Linked DNA regions of Homo sapiens: region 1 is linked to region 2. Evidence: promoter capture Hi-C in 16 types of primary human blood cells and fetal thymus (Javierre and others, 2016). All regions are on one chromosome and are shown on one strand. Each heading gives the region's core, a stretch centred on a gene start or on the middle of the fragment in contact. The rest is flanking DNA. Distances are from core to core; before and after follow the strand shown.

Evidence for each region. The method cuts DNA at HindIII sites, captures the fragments that hold promoters and counts their contacts. A CHiCAGO score of 5 or more calls a contact.
Region 1: a fragment that was not itself captured here is called in contact with the fragment with the promoter of FRMD7 in region 2 in 6 of 17 cell types (non-activated CD4 T cells, naive CD4 T cells, naive B cells and 3 more); the score reaches 7.3 in non-activated CD4 T cells.

Annotation. Positions count from the first base shown.
Region 1 is chrX:132,607,053-132,610,582 of GRCh38, forward strand. No RefSeq gene overlaps it. Among named protein-coding and RNA genes, the nearest start is that of HS6ST2-AS1, 59 kb to the right of the region's middle. The HindIII fragment of the contact is 5,115 bases long and covers 1-3,530 here.
Region 2 is chrX:132,126,615-132,130,378 of GRCh38, forward strand. FRMD7 (FERM domain containing 7) reads right to left here and starts at 1,406. Exons shown (of 12, transcript NM_194277.3): 1 at 1,174-1,406. The coding sequence starts at 1,230. It also overlaps the pseudogene AGKP2. The HindIII fragment of the contact is 2,038 bases long and covers 1-1,599 here.

The DNA of each region.
Region 1 (3,530 bases), core at 599-3,098, 480 kb after region 2:
AGCTCAGTGCTTAAGCCCAAGAACAAGAGGCATCAATTATTCAAGTATCTGCTACTTTGTTAAGTGGATTTATCAGAAAAGTGTCAGAGGTCTCAGTCACTTGTTTCCAGAATCTTCACAAAGGCTTTGCTGCTTCCATTATCCTTCTTCCTACCTCCCTGCTTCTATTCCTCAGTATGATTACAGACTCCTAAAACAGGGTGCTGTCTAGGAGGGAAATCACGCAACAGTGGAAAGCTATTACTCACTCTTTTTGGAAGCCTGTTCCCTCAATACTGTGGCAATAAAGAAAATTCTGAGTTTAACGATGGTGGGGATAGAATAGAGGAGTGGTGGAAGCAAGCAGTAATTCTGCCAGTAACACCAATGAAGCCATGTGGTCTTTTCAACCACGGTACAAGGAACACCTCTCAGCTCTGGATATATTACTCAGATTCTTGCATGAATCAAATAGTGAAAATTCAGGCACACTTTCAGACACCTATGGAAATCTTGGCCATGCTTAACCAGAACTTTATAGAAGTTCACATTCTTTGATCCAATACTTTCATTTCCATGAAATCATTCGAAATACAGCAAAGTTTCATGCATAAAAAGTTTAAATACAGTGATATTTATAACAATGAAAACAAAAACAGGCTAAATGCTAAATCACTTGGAAAAGGCTAAACTATATACTCGATCAATTGATTACTATGTAGGCTTTAAAAAATTACATAGCAGGGAAAATGTTTATGCTAAGATATAATTTTAAAAGATAAAATTGTGAAACTTCACAAAGTTACATGTATTCTTATGATCATGTAAAACAAACAAATCATAAGAAAAATTATGCATAAAAGAAAGACTGGAAGGAAATATAACAAAATGGTGAGACTTGGTATAAATTTTCTACCAACTTTTAAAATACGAATCTATATTTCTTTTATAATAGAAATAATACTGTGGGCTGGGTGCAGTGGCTCACACCTGTAATCCTGGCACTTTGGGAGGCTGAGGCAGGTGGATCACCTGAGGTCAGGAGTTCAAGACAAGCCTGACCAACATGGTGAAAACCGGTCTCTACTAAAAATACAAAATTAGCCAGGCATGGTGGCGGGTGCCTGTAATCCCAGTTACTCGGGAGGCTGAGGCAGGAGAATCTCATGAACCCGGGAGGTGGAGGTTTCTGTGAACCAAGATGGCACCACTGTACTCCAGCCTGGACAACAAGAGTGAAACTCCGAAAAAAAAAAGAAAAAGAAAAGAAAAGAAAAAAAAGAAAGAAAGAAGGAAAGAAAGAAAGAAAGAAAGAAAGAGAAGAAAGAAAGAAAGAAAGAGAAAGAAAGAGAAAGAAGGAAAGAAAGAAAGAAAGAAAGAAAGAAAGAAAGAAAGAAAGAAAGAAAAGAGAAAGAAAGGGAAAGGAAAGGAAAGAAAGGGAAAGGGAAAGGAAAGGAAAGGAAAACAGTTTATTTAAAATTCTGTTTAAAAGTATCTAGAATGCCATGAATTATAAGATGGATTCTGACTTCATGGACAATAAAATGTCCAAAAAACTTATGTGAGACCCTAGGACTGCCCAACTCTAGCCCTACAAAACAGTGGCCAACTCTGCCACTCTTTATCCATCTGATTATGGGCAAGTCACTTAAACTCTCTGAACTTCCATTTATGCCAGGTATAAAATAGAAGTTAATTCCACAAAACAGCTTAGCACCAAGCCTGAAACTTGCACTCAATAAAAGTTAGTTATTATTGCTTGTAATAGTATTGCAATGTCTTCCCTCTAATTCTGATAGAAAGCAAAAATGATTAGAGAAAATTTCCAGCAAGAAGTTTTCCTTTTGTATGTGAAAATGTGAGGATGGGTTTGGTAGGTCTGCATCCACAAAATGACTTCTCTAATGTTTACATTTTACTTACATTAATTAACACAGAGTCATGACACAGGCAAGGGAGGCATCTAAACAGCAAAGGTCAGAGAACAGGTTTCTTTTATATATTTATTTCAAAAGACTCATTGCACTATGTAGAGAAAGAGCATGGGGTTTATGAAACTGCAGGTTACTCATTTAAACTCTGGGTGCCACACCTCACTGTAGGATTAGAAGGGGGCTCTCTCAGGCATTAGCCTACTCCCCCAGCACTACTTCCAGGAGCAAACAATTGCAGTCCTTGGCATAAGTGGATTGTGACAGATCTACCTGGTGAACATTCAGAAAGTGGGTTTATTTATTAATACCTTTCTCTTGCCCACAATAGATTTGAGACAGCTACATTTAAAAAGAAAATGGGGAGAGCCAAAGCAAGGAATAAGTTCCTACTAGGAACAGATGTATGGGAAAGTATTCTTTATTGCATGGAAGGAAGGGGAAATAATGTGGGTCTTTGTGTTGGACTGTGTGGGAAGGTAGTTCAAACCATGACACTAAAGTAAAAGGAAATTTTAATGTACATACACACACACAGACACACACACACACACACACTAGCCATCACAGCAGGCAGCCATGAGCTGCCTAACTCTCCATATGCACAGAATTCATATTGAGCAATGCCAATTGATACTGAACATTCCAAACTGTCTTGCAGGACTTTCACCCTAAAGTGTGCAAAGAATGCATCTTGATCCTTTGAAGAATTACAGAGATGTCTCATCTTTGGAAATTCTTGGAAACCGGAGTTCCTGGAGATTAGAAAAAGCCAACTAAAAAAAATCTACCTTTTCAGAAAGGATAGAGAGTCAACATAGAGATGAAAGATTGAATAACCCAATTTTACTCACAGGATAATATGTTTTTAAAATTCCTCAATGAAAATAAAAAGAACGATAAGAATAGCACAGAGTACTGAGTAACAATCAGCACTACATTATGAAGAAAATAGTCATGCTGACCCAATCTAATTTTTGTTGGGTAACAGATGACAAGCCTAATGGATTTGGGGCAGCAAACAACGTAATATGTATTAACCTTGGAAAGGCTTTTGATTCTGCTCCTAGCCGTGACCTACTCATTAACTAGCTTGAAAAATATTGTTCACACCACATACAAGTGGCACTAGTGGATGATAGTGACCAGCTGGGTTTTGATAGCTCAGTAAGAACCAGAGATAGGGAATCACAGTGCATATTGTTTCTCAGGGAACTGACCTAAGTCTGATACAATTTAATATTTTCATCAAAACTTCAGTGGGTGGAAGAGAAAACATGCCTGTTAATTACAGGAAAATAAAGGAATGAAGATTTTTAAACCCAGAGATAAGAAAATACATGATAAATGGTAACTATTTTATCCTCTACCTCTAACAGCAAAACGAAAACAGATTTGGAAGAATATAGGAATGAAGGGAAGAAGGGAGATAAGACACTAATCTTTGACACGTAGCACCTTCTAGAATAAGACAAAAAGGAGGTCAAAGAGCGTGAAGATGAGAGAGTAAGTAAATGATGGGGATCTCAGAGAAGGAGTTCTTTATAAGTGTACAGATAAGGGGAGCCAGTGGAGAAAGCTGAAAAGTCACTTACAAATATAACTGCAGGTCAGGATCTG
Region 2 (3,764 bases), core at 156-2,655:
CTCACTAATTCAGGTACTGCAGCACTGTGAGCATACACCACCAGTCTGCAAATGGATAAACTACTCAAAAGATATTTTCCACCCCTTAAATATAGTTCCAAGAAAGAATAGGAAATGCCTCATACCTCTAATGGAAGCTATTTGCTACAAAAACAAATCATTCAGGTCCGTGGAACTAGAAATGCCTTTTGCGCATAAAACTGAAAGGAAGAGACAGCAAAACAGCAGATGAAGACATGAAGTCATCACTCACAAAGCACATGATTCAAATAAAAATAAAATACTCATTGGAAAAATGGGCTACCCACACACACAACATCATGGCTGAGCCACAGCAGTTGTCAGTTTATGTATAAAAGAAAAAAACCAACATTTTGTATGAATTTCAGAGAAAATAAACTATTTGTCTCTTGTTAGTGGCTAATGTAAATATCAGAGCAAATAGCATTTTTGGTTCCAATAAAAATGTAGAACTTTTCAAAATGCTCATACATAAATCCTGACATCAAAATGTACATATCTTAAGATGTTGGAACATGAGCACCAAATGATGTGCTTAATACATTTGTTCTTTCTTGAAGAGATGAGGTATAATTGTATGCAATCATCTTGTAGCTAGGAATTTATTAAGAACTCTGAACTATAAGTACTAAATCAAACTAAATAGTCTCTTATCCTATTTTTCTCTCTCATACTTGTCATTCCTTCCTGAAGTTCTCATTACAACTACATAATTCTACCCCTTATAACCCATAGGTTTTCTTCAGAAAAGGAGGATAGCTTCCCCCACTCCTTTCCCTCAGAACAACAGTTTTCTCCCCACAAATGCTCATGGGGTGAGACCCACAGACATAATTTCAATGAACAACAATACCTTATTGGGTAAAAGAACTAGTTTATTGCTGCTTTACTTTTTGCAAATAGTTATCCTGTCTTTAAAATTTGCTATTGTTGTCCCTTGAGAAAAGACAACTTGTTCTAAGAGAAAGGTTAATGGAAAAATATGAACTACATTGTGATGTTAAATACAGATTATTTTTCCAAAGCTAAAAATCACAGTCCTCCTTCATTCAGTCCTAAAGAAGACATAACATTGCTCTCTAATGGGCTGTTCACAAATGACAATTATTGAATGAATAATAAAGGAATAATAGCAATGTGATTTCCACTTACATCAACCACAAAAATCTTCTGGGAATCATCCAAAAACTGCACTTTTAAATGTAGCATTCTCAGCGAGGCCGTTGGGCTGCAAGCAGGCTCAGAGTGCTGTGGGTGCTTTCTCCAGGAATTTCACTCCCAGCTGGATGTGGTGCACTCGGGCCCCCCCACCCCCAGCCAGGCATTCCCACTGTCAGCGGGGCACACTTCCGTTTGCTTGAAGTAATGCACACCCAAGGGCATTTGTGCTGCCAAGTGCAGGGGATCAATAGCATCTGGGCAGTCTCCTGTTTGGTCAATATCAAATCTAACTGGACTTCCTCTAGCCTTCTTAAACTCAGCTCCTTTCTTCAAAGAAAAATATAAAGAAAGCAAGCATTTGTGGTCCCTGGGGATTTTCTTTATTTCACAAGGGCACAATTTGAAAACCCTAGATCAAGCTTTAATAAACTGAGAATAGCCATTCTCAAAAGTAAAAAGATTCAAGTTAATCTCAAATTGTACTAGAAATTTCATGGCCAAGCTAGGAAGCATCTATCTATCTATCTATCTATCTATCTATCTATCTATCTATCTATCTATGCTTATATATATCTATATATAATTATATAGATATAATATATCCATATATAATTATATAGATATAATATATCCATATATAATTATATAGATATAATATATCCATATAATTGCTATTATATAGAAACATATATAATATAAAATTATGCATAATTTTAATTATCTGAATTCACATGATTTAGAAATAAAAACTATATAAAAAGGTATATAGAAAACTTCACTTCCACTCCTGTTCCCTCTTTTCTGTGTTCCCAATACACCCCTATTGGTAACCAATTTTTTTTCTTTCTATTCCCATAGAATTTATGTGCTTACATCTATAAAGAAATGAAACAAGGAATACAACTAAGGTCGAACCCCATCTCAGCTGTAAATAACATTCATGTATTCTTGGATAAATGAACTAATTAGGATAAAGAACGTTCTAATAAAACAGTCATCAAAGAATTACATTAATATCATTTTCATTATATAACAATAATTACGATGACATTTATTCTGGACTGAGATAACACTTAAGGCAAGAACTAAGAAAACTTACCTCCATTTGTATTTTTTGTTGACAAGAAGATAATGGGTGAATGATTAAAAGATGCCAAGCACAGTAGATTACATTACGATAGGATTCTTGGCTGAAAGTGGTATGAAAATATAGAAGAAGAAAAGCCAATTTAAAATGTTCAACTACTAAAGAACTAGCTCGTTTATTTTTATAAATGAATAAAGGGTGTCAAATTGTTGTGATATTTAAATTGTACCGGATATGTTTAAAATAGTGATGTAACAGTTTTTATTTTAAAATACCAATATTTATATGACACCAGCAAACACATACTTTGTCAAGTATTTAACTTCCCATGAAAAATTTTAGATGTCAACTTAGATGGGTGAGGGGACACATGATTTTTCAAAATACTTTTGGGGGTCACATGAGCAGAATACTTTGTGGACCACTGCTTTAAAACACTATTTCTCTAAGTACGGTTGAGGGACCAACTTACAGAATCACCTGGGAAGGGTGGCTGACTTTTTAAAAATGCCGATACCTGAACCCCATCCCCAAATTGGGTTGTTAGGTTTGGGGTGGACCCCAAATAGATCAATTTTCAACATGCACTCCAAGTGGCTCTCATGCAAACCATTTAAGAAGCACTACTTAAAAAATAAAAACTAGCATTTTACAGTATTATAGCCATGGCTGAAGAGGGAAACAACCTCACATACATACCTGGACTGAGGATAGAATTGAAATAAAAGCTAAACAAGAGCCGGAGCTCTCAAAATAGCAGCACCCGTGGAGGAGGCTAGAAATAGGAAAAGGTCACCAGGGAAGGAAGGCACTTTTCCTGGAATTCCTAGTACAATCAAAGAATAGAATGGGAATGGAAGGGCTTAGGCAGGCTAAGCCCACTGTGGGCTTTCCACTGTGGTTGCACTTTGGGAGAAAACAGAAGAAAGTCCTTTCCCATCTTGAACCAGCCTGAGGAAAGCCCGTGTTTAGGAGGGTCGACCGTCACACCAAAACAAAACATGCCCTAACAGAAGCTGATTGCAAAGCAGGTGACAGAGAACACTTTGGGAAGCACTGCTGGAGGCTGGCAGAGGGGTAGTTGCCATGAAAATGCCCTTGAGAGCCTCTGAGAACACTGTTGGGATGGTTGAGGCACCTGTTCCCTTTTGGTCCCACCGGTGGCCTAAAATGTGGTCTCGGAGTACTTGTCGTCTGCCTGCTCACTGGGTGGAGCTTGCCAGCATCTGTTCTTTCTTCCTAGGATCACAGAAGAACTGCAGCTTCCTGGGGAGCAGTTTCACTTCCACAGGCATCGCTTCATACTCCTCACTGTCAATGCTAAAAGAGCTCCCTGCTCCCTTGGGGACAAGCAAAGTGTACTGGCTGGCTTGGAGACACTCCATGCCCTCAGTGTCCAGCTTGGCTTTTCTCACCTTTAGGCTTCCTATAGTTATAAAGCCTCCTTTGCTGACGGTGTCGGCTTCAATGCAGATGTTCATAAAATCTTTGCATG